3 separate regions of the Homo sapiens genome follow, and regions 1 and 3 are each linked to region 2. The links are contacts of gene promoters, found by promoter capture Hi-C in blood cells and fetal thymus (Javierre and others, 2016). All regions are on one chromosome and are shown on one strand. Each heading gives the region's core, a stretch centred on a gene start or on the middle of the fragment in contact. The rest is flanking DNA. Distances are from core to core; before and after follow the strand shown. Region 1 overlaps IL26 (interleukin 26). Region 2 holds the start of MDM1 (Mdm1 nuclear protein). Region 3 has its middle 3.8 kb from the start of LINC02384.

The links. The method cuts DNA at HindIII sites, captures the fragments that hold promoters and counts their contacts. A CHiCAGO score of 5 or more calls a contact.
Region 1: a fragment that was not itself captured here is called in contact with the fragment with the promoter of MDM1 in region 2 in 1 of 17 cell types (activated CD4 T cells); the score reaches 5.7 in activated CD4 T cells.
Region 3: a contact is called between a fragment that was not itself captured here and the fragment with the promoter of MDM1 in region 2, in 1 of 17 cell types (megakaryocytes). The highest score is 5.5, in megakaryocytes.

Annotation. Positions count from the first base shown.
Region 1 is chr12:68,215,702-68,220,024 of GRCh38, reverse strand. The region is part of intron 3 of IL26 (interleukin 26); the gene reads left to right. Among named protein-coding and RNA genes, the nearest start is that of IL26, 7.9 kb to the left of the region's middle. The HindIII fragment of the contact is 700 bases long and covers 1,981-2,680 here.
Region 2 is chr12:68,329,371-68,334,004 of GRCh38, reverse strand. MDM1 (Mdm1 nuclear protein) reads left to right here and starts at 1,643. Exons shown (of 15, transcript NM_001354969.2): 1 at 1,643-1,777; 2 at 2,784-2,898. The coding sequence starts at 1,760. It overlaps LOC105369819 (a long non-coding RNA gene), which reads right to left and starts at 1,374. Exons shown (of 3, transcript XR_945057.3): 1 at 1-1,374. RefSeq lists a silencer at 1,443-1,702 and an enhancer at 2,003-2,092. The HindIII fragment of the contact is 10,890 bases long and covers 1-4,024 here.
Region 3 is chr12:68,453,226-68,457,393 of GRCh38, reverse strand. No RefSeq gene overlaps it. Among named protein-coding and RNA genes, the nearest start is that of LINC02384, 3.8 kb to the right of the region's middle. The HindIII fragment of the contact is 315 bases long and covers 2,578-2,892 here.

The sequences.
Region 1 (4,323 bases), core at 1,081-3,580, 110 kb after region 2:
TATTTCTTTTTGAAGGAACCTTGGTAGTTTGTGTCTTTCAGTGATTTTATTCATCTCATCAAATTCACCAAATTTATAGCCAGATAATTTTTCATGATATTTCCTTAATATGCTTTTAATATCTGCATAGTACAGGATGATGTCACTTCTCTTATTTCTGATATTGGTAATTTTTGTCTTTATTTTTTCTTTCTCATGGGTCTGGCTAAAAATTCATCAATTTTATTGATTTCTCAAAGAACCAGTTTTTAGTTTCATTGATTTTTCTTTATTACTTTTCTGTTTTTATTTCAGTGATTTTTATTCTGAACATTATTATTCATTTTCTTCTATTAAATTTATATTTAGTCTGCTCCTTCTAGTTTCTTAAGCTAGAAACTTGGGTCATTAACTTGAAATTTTTTTTTCTTTATTTGGAAGCTGAGATTATTAATTTGTGATTTTCTAACTTTTTATTATAGGAGTTTAGAACTATAAATTTCCCTCTAAGTACTTCTTTAGTTACATTTCACAATCTTTGCTATGTTGTGCTTTCATGTTTATTTGCTTTAAATTACTTGCTAATTTCCCTTTTTATTTTTTCTTTTATATATGGGTTATTAGAAGAGTGTTATTTAGTTTTTATATGTGGGAATTTTTCTAGATACTTTTCTAATTTTGATTTCTAATTTGATATCATTTTGGCCAGAGACCATACTTTGTATGACTTGAATCCCTTTATATTTGCTGATCCATGTTTCATAACCCAGAATTTGGTCTATTTTGGTAAATGTTCTATGTATATTTGAAAAGAATATGTATTCTGCCATTGTTGGGCTGAGTATTTTATACATTTCAATTAGATTTAGTTGTGACAGCTTTTTACTTTTTCTCTCTCTTTATTAACTTTTTTCTACTTGTTTTATCAATTATTGGTATCTCTGACATTAATTGTGAACTTCTGTTGCTTCTTGAAGTTCTATCAGATATTGCTTCATGTATTTTGAATTTCTGTTATTAGGTACAGAAATGTTTATGATTGTTATATTCTCTTGATGAATTGACACATTTATCATTATAAAATTACCCTTATTGTCCCTAATAATATTCTTTGTCCTGAAATCCACTTCTTTTTTGATGCTAATAGAATCACTCCAGCTTTCTTTTGATTGATGTTAGTGTGCTATGTCTTTTTCCATCCTTTTACTCATAACATATTCGTGCCTTTTATTTTTCTCATTATTACTTGTTTTAAGCAATTTGATTATGATGTGAATTGATGTAGTTTTCTTCAGGCTTCTTGTGCTTGGAGTTGATTGGGAATCTTGTATTTGTGAGTATATAGTTTTCATCAAATTTGAAATTGTTCAGCATTATTTATTCAAAAACTTTTTTCTGTATCTCCTTCTGTCTCTTCTCCTCTTGGAATGCTAATTACACATATATTAGCCCATTTGTAGTTGTCCCACAGCTCACTGATTCTGTGGGTTGTTTTTTCCCAGTCTTTTCTGTGTTTCATTGTGAATAGTTTCTATTGCTACATCTTCAAGATCACTAATCGTTTCTTTTGTAGTGCCTATCTGTTAGTCCCATTCAGAATATTTTTCACCTCATACATTGTAGTTTTTATCTCTAGAAGTTTGAATTGAGTCTTTTTAATATTTTCCATTGCTCTATTGAACATGATCAGTCTTTCTCTAACTTCTAGAACATATGGAATAGAGTTATAGCAACTTTTAAAATATCCTTATTGATTAATTGTAACATTTGTGTCCACTCTGGGTTGGTTTCAATTGATTGATTTTTTTCCCTCGTTATGGGTCATATTTTACAGCATCTTTGCACGGCTGGTAATTTTGATCAAATGTCAAATATTATGAATTTTACCTTGTTGGATCCTAGACATTTTTATATTTCTGTAAATATTCTTGAGTTTTCTTCTGGGACACAGTTAAATTAGTTGCAAACAGTTTGATCTTTTCAGATCTTGTTGTTTAAGCTTTGTTAGGCAGGACCAAAGTATTGTTTAGTCTAGTGCTGTTTTTGCCACTCATTGAAGCAACACATTTCTGTAAACTCTACCATATTTCCTATGATTTTGCTTTCCTTTCTTCTTTTCCTTCTCTTCCTCCTTTTTGAAATGTATTTGTTCAGGACATTCGGCCATTTGTCTCACAGAGTTTCTCATAGTCTGTATTTTCTGACTGCATTTTCATAGTGTCATTTAATATATTCTCCTCTTTATTTACCATACATTAACAATTATACAGAGAGACTTGATCAGATTTAGCTTGATGTTTTAGCTAGAACACTTTATAGGTAGCATTGTTTGCTTTCACTGGGTCACATGATGTATGATCTTTATTTTTACGATGATAACAACCCCTGACAATTATTGTCTAGATCCGTTAATTCATAAGGCACTACAAAATAATAATTTTTAAATTCTATTTTATCTTCTTTACTCATAAGCTGGGATAATTCAATAAATAGAATCTACTCCTATTTGGATGTTCTGAGGAACTTATCATATAAGAAAGCCAGGTTAAATACTTAATTATCTTCCTTTATTTGCTAGCTTTCAACATAAGTGGTTGGTTTTCTGATTTTCTCCCATAATGACCAATGAATTATTAATTTTGTTGTCATTTTCTCTGTTTCATTATTAACTCATGAAATTATTTCTTATTTTTGTGAAGCTTATCTGATTTCTCTAAGGTACCTGCCTTTTGGGCTTCCTTGCAAGTCCGTTTTCTTGAGCCACTCTTAAGATAAAACAGCATGACAAATTATCATGATAGACTCCAAGGACTGGAATTCCCAGTACCACTGTATTTGGACATCCTCTCATTGCTTCTGGTGACATTCTAAGCATTTTGCAGCACCTAATAAAATATATTTTCCAATTAGTTTGATTTGGGTAAGTCAGATAGTATAATTGTTCAAAAAATAAGTTATGTGTAATGTAAACTTCTTTATGTTTATACTCTTTCCTAGCCATAATATTTGGAAAATTGTTTATGTAAGAAGACATTTTAGAGATTCTTACAGAACTCAAATACTCTCAGACTTGAAAGAGAATTTAGCAGTCACCTTATTGGATTCATAAAATAATTTACCTAATTGCTAGTGATCAAAATAGAAATGAAAATAATTTCTGTTAGTTTTTAAGATTTCATCGTCTACTTTAATTAACATTTTGAGAGCCTGAACAGTAATTGGTATTTAGAGAGACACATTTCTTCATGTCGGTTGCATGTAATTAATTTTAAAGTCTGGCAAAAATTGGCAAACAGAATATTGTGTTTCCATTTTTTGTAGACTGTTTAATAAGTAACTTGTATCATCAATTGCAAATAGCTTATCAACTTGTAAAATAATACCATTCATTCATCCCTGTAATTTAAAATTGTAAAAATTGCAACTGGTTGAACTGATAAAGCAAGAGTGAGACCAATCCTGTCTTATTCTTTTATCAGCTGCAAAGTCTAAAACCTGTGTCTTCAATAACAGTAGCCTCATCTTAAGGTCGTTGGGAGAATTAAGTACCTAGCATGTAGTAGTTCTGCAGAATTGTTAGTGCTTCCTTTATTGCTTTTCATGCACAGAACATTAATTTTTATTCCAATTACATTTTCTCAACAATTTACGAAGGAGTGGTTCTCTTAAGTAATCAGATACTTTTTTAGTGCTTAAAATTAGTATTATATTGTATAATGTGTATAATTTATAGTAGTAGCTTATTTATTTTTTTATGAGACGGAGTCTTGCTGTGTTGTCAGGCTGGAGTGCAGTGGTGCAATCTTGGCTCACTGCAACCTCCACCTCCTGGGTTCAAGCGATTCCCCTGCCTCAGCCTCCTGTGTAGTTGGGACTACAGGCGTGTGCCAGCATGCCTGGCTAATTTTTTGTATTTTAGTAGAGATGGGGTTTCACCATGTTGGCCAGGATGGTCTCGATCTTCTGACCTTGTGATCCATCCACCTCAGCCTCCCAAAGTGCTGGGATTACAGGCGTGAGCCACCACGCCTGGCCAGCAGTAGTTTAATTTAAAGATAAATAGGCTGAGCATGGTGGCTCATGCCTGTAATCCCAGCACTTTGGGAGGCTGAGGTGGGCAGATCACTTGAGGCCAGAAGTTTGAGACCAGCCTGGCCAACATAGTGAAACCCTGTCTCTACTAAAAACAAAAATAAAAATAAAAATAAAAAGTTATCTGGATATGGGGTGCATGCCTATAATCCCAGCTACTCAGGAGGCTGAGGCACGAGGATTACTTGAACCCAGGAGGCTGAGATTGCAATGCGTCAAGATTGCACCACTGCTCTCCAGCCTCAGCAACAG
Region 2 (4,634 bases), core at 394-2,893:
TTGGTTTTCCTGTCATTTACTCCCTGCTCAGCAGAGCTCTTCTGCAGTGATCATTGCGCTTGTTTAGCAGGCAGGCTACATTCTACACACTTGCTTTTGCTGATCTCACCTTAGCATTTTGTGGTAACAAAGCTGTGTGCACAACCAAAGTTGTGCCTTTCTTACTCTGTAAGATGGGCTGCCTTCCTGCAGATGACTTTTGTTCTATGTTCCACTGTGTCTTGTTTGTGCCATTCTTAATTTACACGACAGAGATGCTGTCATCACCAATTAACATTAATCAAGGGCCCCCTGGATGCATGGCTGCATTGGGACTAATTTAATATGCTCTTTGTTCCAGATATCAGGTGGCTTCTTCAAATGATTTTTAAGTATCTCGATGATGATGAAGAACAAAGACATCAATCAGGATTCAGGAAGACAGCTTTTGCGGAAAATGCTTAAAGGGAAGCATCAAGGATTGGTGTTGATATTTGAAAGTTTAAGAGTGGTATACTTTTATTCAGTCAACACATGACAAATGTAAAAGGCACTCATTTGTTGTTCCTGGAAGAAGCCTGGCAGCATTCCATTCAGACATCTGCCCTTTCATCGTCCCACTTTTTACTTATTGCAGTCCTTTCAGTCTGAATATTTCCTCCTGACGCATCTTCTGCCGTCCGAAATGACTCCCTGCTCCCAGATCCTGTAGCCCTTATTATTGACACCTTTCATTTAGAAATTTAGCACATGTCACATTACACCATTATTGAATAAATAATGAATAAATAAATAAATAAAGATGTATGTCCTTCCCAAGTATATCAGAGAACTATCTGGACAATTTCTTTCTTTCCCAATTCTCAGAATCAGCAGTATTCTGTCAAGAAACATTTATCGACGATGATGGCAATAGTCGATTAAAATCAGATGAAGTTTTATTTTTAAAAAAAGGTTGAGCGGAGAGACAAGGCTGAAGGTTTGGAAGTTGAGACAACCATCTTCAATAAACGTTTTCTCATCTAAGGGCTGTATGTACATCATTTTGGGGAAGGTAGAGATTGAAGGAGGAAGAACATCACTGGAGGAAGAGACAGCAGTTTGTCTTTCGAGTTTCAATAAAGTTTCAAAAATCTTGCCTAAGTTATATATTTTTTTGGCCTTTCCCTTTTGATGTGACAATAAACTGTAATGCGGCTGTCGTTTGTACGAACCGATATTCAGCAGAATAAATCTGAGCACTTTCAGAAAAAGAAGCGTTCGGTTTTCTCATAGATGTTAGCATGAAGAACACACTTTGACCTTTGATGCTGTCAAGCACCTGGGCCAGCGAGGCTGGCGGCTGGCGAATTCCACCAGCAAGCAGACGCATTGCTGCGCAGGACCCGGCGAACCAGGGACCGGTCCACCCAACCCAGGAAGGCACCCCCGGGGTCCCGCCCAGCCCGGTTCCGGGAGCCTTATTGGCCGGCCTTCCGCCCGCCATCTCTATCAGCCCCAGGGATTTGGCAAGGGAGGTAGGCGGCTCCCTTTCGGCCACTCATTGGTCAAATCCTAATGGAGGTAAGGCACTCTGCGAGTCTCTATTGGTCCCTAGGCTCCAAAAAGGGCGGGGAAAAACAGACCGACAGGCCTCTAGGCGGGAAGCGCGGAGTGCGCCGGCGCGTAGTCGGGGACGCCGGGCCGAGGCTTTGCTAGGGAACACTGTTATCGCCCCGCCCCCTCGGAGCTTTTTCTCCAGTTAACTGTCGGAGTAGCGGGGGCTCCGGCGCCGGGCGACATGCCGGTGCGCTTCAAGGTGAGGCTGGGGTCCCCGGGCCGGAATGTGGCTGGGGGGAGCCATGGCCGGGGAGGTGTGGAGCGCCGAGGTCACGCTGCTTTTCTGCGCTGCAGCCCTCTGCCCGGCGGAAGCTGCCAGCCCCAGGGCCTGCTCGAGGGGCCCCAGAATCTGCCCGCCGCCTCTTAACCTAGTTCCCTCTCCGCTCACTCACATTTGCAAGCTGCAGTGTGTCGAAGAGTCAGATGGTGCGAGACACATTTACTTAGGGGGACTCAAGAGGAGTGGAGATGGGAGGAGGTCCCTTTGCGAAGAGAACTAAAGGCGACTTCAGATTGGGACACCTGTGGCCCATTTAGCTTAGCATTTAACCCCCATTACCTTTAAAACTTTAGTGTATGTGGCTTTTAAAGGCTTGAGAAATGGGTTCTTAGTAAAGACAGCGTATAAAGAAATACACGTTTTTCATCGTTGTGCATTCTTAGCGTATGTTAAAAGTTCCAGGTAGCTGGTAGCTGTCAGGGACTAGCACCCTGCAACTTCACAGGTGGCCACAGCGTCCCACATCTCCTGACTCATTTATCTTAAAGGCGTGTATTCAGAATGGAAGGGGAGTTTGCCTTTTGTTGACTTTATCAAATAGCAAAAGGTCCTAGGCATGGTACATAATATTGTGTACTCGGTGAAAACCTGCGATAAATCTAGAATGATGAGAATTTAGATTGTCATTAGTTATCCGACAAGAACTCATGCTTTGGAATCAGATAATCAGTGAAAGGGTAACCTCTGAGCCTGGAATTCCTGGTAGCATCTGCCTCAAGTGGTGTTGTGGATTAAAGGATATAACACGTGTGAACTGCTTAGCACAGGGCTGGGTGAATATTAGCTCTTATTAAGGAGCTCGTCTGTGTTTAATTTTCAGTCTTAAGTCTCTTTTGGGAGGTTCAGAAATTATTTTTCACCGATGTCTGCTTTAAAACATCATTCATTAATTGGACTGTACTCAAAAGTGTACTTTGCATTACAGGGGCTGAGTGAATACCAGAGGAACTTCCTGTGGAAAAAGTCTTATTTGTCCGAGTCTTGTAATTCCTCCGTGGGGCGAAAGTACCCATGGGCTGGACTTAGATCAGATCAATTAGGTAAGTTGAGCAGGCTAATAGCCATTCTAACCTGGGCTAAGTTTATAACTTGGGCCAAGCCGTTATAACTTGGGCTAAGTAAACCTTGGGCTAAGTTTACCAAATGATATATTAAAAGTTCAGTTGGCCTGGTTGATTTATTCATTTATTAATCAAGTATTTATTGAAGGTTTACTATGAGCCAGGACTATTCCCAGCAGCTAGTGTGGCAGGCCAGGTTTCACTAATGGAGGCCTCCATCACAACTGTTTCGGTACTGACTGAGCGGTTAAGTTAAATATTGAAAGCTAAAAAAAGCCAGTGCCCTTACACAAAGGCTGGGATGTCACAAAAGCCCATCAAGAGTATTGCCTAGGCCTTTCCTGGGCCATAAAGCATGACAAAATAAGGAATTCTTAACAGGATCCGTTTAGGATTAAACAAGTTTTACTGGGGGTCTGAAGAAACTCCCCAGGCCTCCACAAATTTATTGGCGGTCTGAAGGAACTCCTCAAACCTCCATGATTCAGCAGGAGACAAGATAAGGGTAATCAGCCCAGCACCTAGACCCATTTAGATTAAGTAAATTTACTGATGCTCCAGAAGAAGGTCTTCAGGACTCAGACCTTAGTTATAGATTAAAAGAAGTTAATCACTTATATCCTTAGATGAATGCACACTTACACGTAGACATATAGCTTAGAAGGTATATAAGCTCTGAAAAACTTTGTAATTTGGGGTTCGTCTGGTGATAATTTGCAGGCCTTCTTCCCGTAACTGGTTATAGAAATAAAAACTCTCTTTCTCCCTAGTTTATCTGCATCTCGTTATTGGCCGAGAGAAATAGCAGCCTGACCCTCAGTTTGGTCTGGGAACACTAGGGATATAGCCCTGAACCAAAGTCCCTTAACTGTGGAGAGAAACAGTAAGCAAGTCACTCAATAATTAAGGGAATTTCAGGTTTTTATATAAAATTGTAGGGAAGTGTGATACATAACATGCGGGAGGAGTGGATTGGAGGGAAAATGCTTTAGATTAGATGGTTGGGAAAGGCTCTTTTTGAGGAGGTGATATTTGAGCTGAGACCTGAAAGCTGAGGGGACAATGCTGGGGAAGAGTGCTCCCAAGGTCTTGAGAAATGGAAGCTTAGGGAGATGAGGTCGCTGCCCCAGCTTTACAGCTAGTAAGTGGCAGAACCATGATTTGAAATCAAGTCTGTTTTGTGCAAAGCATGTAATTTCAGAGGTCATGTTCTTGTTATCACACATGCCTCCTCCCTGTGTCCCAGGGAAGGCAGAGTCCTGGGCCAGAGTTTCCCGGAGGGTGATAGAACAGAAGGGAGACAGACTGACCTCATTATACCTGCTTATTTAATTCTTCCTTACTAGTATATTAGATCTCTGAGAGTAGGGCTCTGTCTTATTCACCACCCAGTACCTAACACAGGCCTTGGAACATTCTATTGCTTCTTGAAACTATTTTTTGAATGAATGAATTAGCCTAAATTTGAATTATAATAGCTGTGTGATGTTGGGCAAATTGAGCTAGTTTCACCAAGTGAGATTTTAGGAAGTCTGTTGCATAGGATTACTGGGAGGGTTTAAATGAGATGTTGCCTATTAAGGGCCTGGTTTGAGTACACAGATCAGTGCTTAGTGTCCCACATGTGATGTGTGCGAGCATGGCATGTAAGTCACATAAATGTTAGATGTTTGAAGCCAGGAAAAGACTTATGGGTAGGGTACCAAGCCTGGAAA
Region 3 (4,168 bases), core at 1,486-3,985, 120 kb before region 2:
AGATTTAAGTCTCTAATCCATTTTGATTTGATTTTTGTATATGGTGACATAGGGGTCTGGGTTTCATTCTTCTGCATATGGATATCCAGTTTCCCAGCACCATTTATTGAAGAAACTGTTTTTTCTATAAATGGGTTTTTTTAAAAAATGAAGAATATTAAAGAAAGATGCATTGTTTCAGCTAAAGGCAGGCTTACCACCGTAATTGTACCCTGAACACTGTTTCAGGAAGGACCTCAAAGGTATCCATGTGCTCAACAAGGGGTACGGCATATGCTTCTCTAGTCCTAGCAGGGTCAGCCTGCTGCCATGCTTGGAGGTGAGGACCAGATGTGGTGCTGAAAGGAGAAGACTGGGGGTGGGGGAAGGGTGGTGGTATCATTCATTCAGTATGTATGTACACGTGTGTTTATTATTTATCCAGTTTTTAAATAGTGTGAGAATACACATCATTTAATATATATTTATTGATCAACTCATATGTGCCAGGCCTGTGTTTGTGCTGGCAACAGAACAGTAATGAAGGCGGAAGAGACAGAAAGGGAGGCAGCTTGACAAGGAAACACCTGGCTCCCCCAACCCTTCATAAGTTCACACATTTATAGGTTGGTGGGGGAAAAACTTATCTAAACTGAAAATTAGACAAACTATTTATTACACACAGTACACTAACAAAATACGTAAATACAACAACAAAAGGTAAAGTGGATTATGAGTAAAAGAATAACTGTAGGAAGTAATCTAACCTAGGGGGTCAGAGGAGGTAGCCAGTAGGTATAGTCTTGCTTAGTGTAAAACAAACAAAACTCCCACAAAAGCAAAAGCATGGCTTTGGTTTGATAAACAGCATAATTCAGATATCAAATATTCCTAGTTAAGTGTGTGGTTCTAGGCCTTTAAAAGACTGAATCATGCGGCAGGTGGTGGTTATTTTCACCATGAAGTTGGTAGAACAAATCAAAGTTGACAGGATATCAAAAATCCTGATTGGCTGCAGTTACTGAGTGACTGCTGGGAGAAACGTGGTTTTAAGAAAGGCTGAGATTGGTATGTAGGCAAAGAGCTGGGAGAGAACTCCAGGTCTAGGAGATAGTTTGGAAGGAGTAAAAAGCAAACAAGAGGTAAACAGAATGATGTGATGGGTGGAAAAGCACAGGAGCCCGTGGGGAAGACTGGGCTTTAAGGGCACAGACAATGAAACCAGCTAGAAGGCAGGAAGTGCACCCTGGGGTGGCCCTCCGGTACAGGAACCTGACCTGGACAGGAAGTGAAGGGTATCATCTGAGGAGCAGGAAGGGGAGATGTGAGGGAAATAAGTGTCCATTGCATAAACCTTGCTAGAGCTTTTATCCTGTTACAGGGTTGTAGGCAGCTTGGAGCTTCTCTAACAAAATAATCTGGCCTGCTGGGAGGTATTTGTGAGGGACAAGAAGGGAGACAAGAAAGGTTAGAGTGTGGGCAATTACCATGGGGCTCTGTCTTGTCTTGGCTCCCTTTTGGATGACATAAGATCTTTGTCTTGGATCCAAACAGGATGAAAATAAGTCTCATTTCCTCCCCTCTCCCAACCCCCTTCCTCCCATGATGAAATGAACTATATGGGACTCTTGGTTGACATAAATCTTTGTGCTTTAATAAAAACTAAAGGTTCAGGAGTGGGAAGTGGTTAAGAAGTTGTTTGCTGGGGATTATATCAATAATTCATCCTGTTTAGACTGAAGAATGACAATGATAAAGAAGTTAAAACAAAAAACCAACAAACAAACCCACTAGGGTAAATGGGGCAGGGGAAACTGAGAAGTGAAAATGAAGACAGAATTGAACATATGTGAATATAAACTTTTTTTTTTAACCAGCTGTAAACAAAGTGGTATGAGGAAAGATGGGAAGAGATATAAAAATAAACAGCATTAAGTTAAAGGGGGTAATTATAGGAGCCAAAATGAGAGGTGAGTGTCGCAAAGGATCCAGCTAACTTTAGAGACTTGAGAAGTTTCTTCAAACATTTCCTTTCAGGACACTGTGGGGCTTTCAATCTTTCAGGATTTAACAAGACCCTAAATGTATATGCCTTAAATTCACACAAACACACACTTTTTTTGTTTGTTTGTTTTTTCCTGTTGGGGGAGAAGAGAGAGTAGGAGATGTATTCTTTGTTGTCATTTGGAAAACAGTTTCCGGTACATTTTATTTGCTTTTAAAAGCCCTGGAGAATAGTCAGCAAATAGAAATTGGTTTGCAGAAATAACATGGCTTCCTGGAACTTAGGGGGAAGGAAATGGGTGGTTTCTTTAATTACTATAGTATTTGTTTAGTATAGTGTGTCTTACAACTAAAGATAGAATTCCGGCTAATGTCCAGGAGGGAAGGTGAATTTGGATATTAATGAATTCGGAAGCTTCATACAGTTGTGTTGAATTTACCAGGTTAAGTAAGACAATAATGCTCTTTGTTTTCCCTATCCTGGCCAGATTAGAGTGGACTGAAGTTTGTTTTCAGATATCTAATCAGTTTAAATTCAAGTGCATTATTATTTACATATGAAGAGCTAATGACTTTAATGTAAGCAAGTAAGCTTATTTACAACAAAGAAGTGACTGGGTGACAAGAGGAGTGTCGATATTGCCTTAATTAGTTGATTTGCCAATTATTCTTTTCTGCTGGGTGTGATAGTACTTTTCCTAATGAGCAGCAGAAACAAGAATGCTCCAGCAAAAGCGATTGTAACACAGTAGTAGCAATAGCTTCTTGGCCATTTTAGGTCCATTAGTGCTGAAGTTGTCGACTTTATACAATTTTTCAGACTTCATAAGATTGAAGAACCAAGTATATTCCTGTAGGTTTATCCTATTTATTTATCAGCTATGTGACTTAGCTCAAGTCTGAGAAGCTTAAAAGGCATTTACTGAAAGTGAAAATAAATTAGATGGCAGGTTTGAACTTAAAGAAGAATTAAAAATATGTCCCACAGCAGTGCCATGCATTTATTTCTTCAGGCTTCTTAAAGACATTGATTGGTAATAGATGCATCCGCGCTCATTGGTGTGGGAAGCCCTGGGGGAATGGCTAGAAGACTCCTTCATTTTCTTTTGTGTAGGTTTGCATTTCTTCTGTATTTGAAAGTCGTGATACTGAAGAAATTCAAAAATCCCCAGGAGATTCCATGTCCACATAACAAATGTAAACTTATCTTTACTTTAATGTGTTCACTTCTCATAACTCCTTGACTGGAACCCTTCACTTCATCCAGTCTGAGAGTCTGTAAGTTTCTGCCGCAGGCATGCACATTCCTGACACCACGCTTTTGCTTGGCTGTGCCTCCTGCCCAGAATGCTGTCTATTCTCTTACGCACATCCTCTCTGTATCCCATTTTTGTCCTATTTCTTCCTGATTCAGAGAGGGTGGTGATTGGTGGATATGGCTAACATTTATTAAGTATATCTCATGCTTTACATACTGTGGTGGCAATTTATGTGCATTGTTTAATGATACCCCCGTTTTACAGGTAGGGAAAGAGAGGCTTACAGAATGTCACTGGGCTCACACTAGTAAGTGGCACAAAGCCAGAATATAAATCTAGGTCTTTCTGGTCATTTCTGGACTTAATCTTATAGTGTCTTGAATTGTTTCTTAGCTATTGCATCTACTAAGGCCTTATTTCTCTAACCAGATTGTCAGTGGCTAGAGGCAAGGAGCTTACTTATCTTTTAGTCTGCATAGAGCAGGCCCTCAATAGTGATAGCCTTCTATTGAAGTGAAAAATAACATGTAAAACGTTAAAGGATTTTTATTATTTGGTTAAACACTGGAAGAAAGAAACAAATCACAGGAAACTAATTTCTCAAAATTACTGCATGAACACAAGACACTGTGGTTCTTAGTGTGATCAGCACCACTCACATGGGTGTCTGGAAATGTGGGGGCAGTCCTTAGGTTGTCAGGATTCTGAAGGTATCATGCAGTTATAGTGTGTGGTAGACAGGGACGTCAAACACCTTGCAGAAAGTAGGACCGTTCTGCACCCTGCAGGGGCCCAATAAGGGAAGCAGCACCTGGAAAACATGGACCCAGATGCCAGATTGAGTTCCAACTTGCCTCCACCTTTTACTAACTGAGTAAATCTTTCTCATGTTAACTATGTGCCCTCTCCACTCCTGGCACATGGTT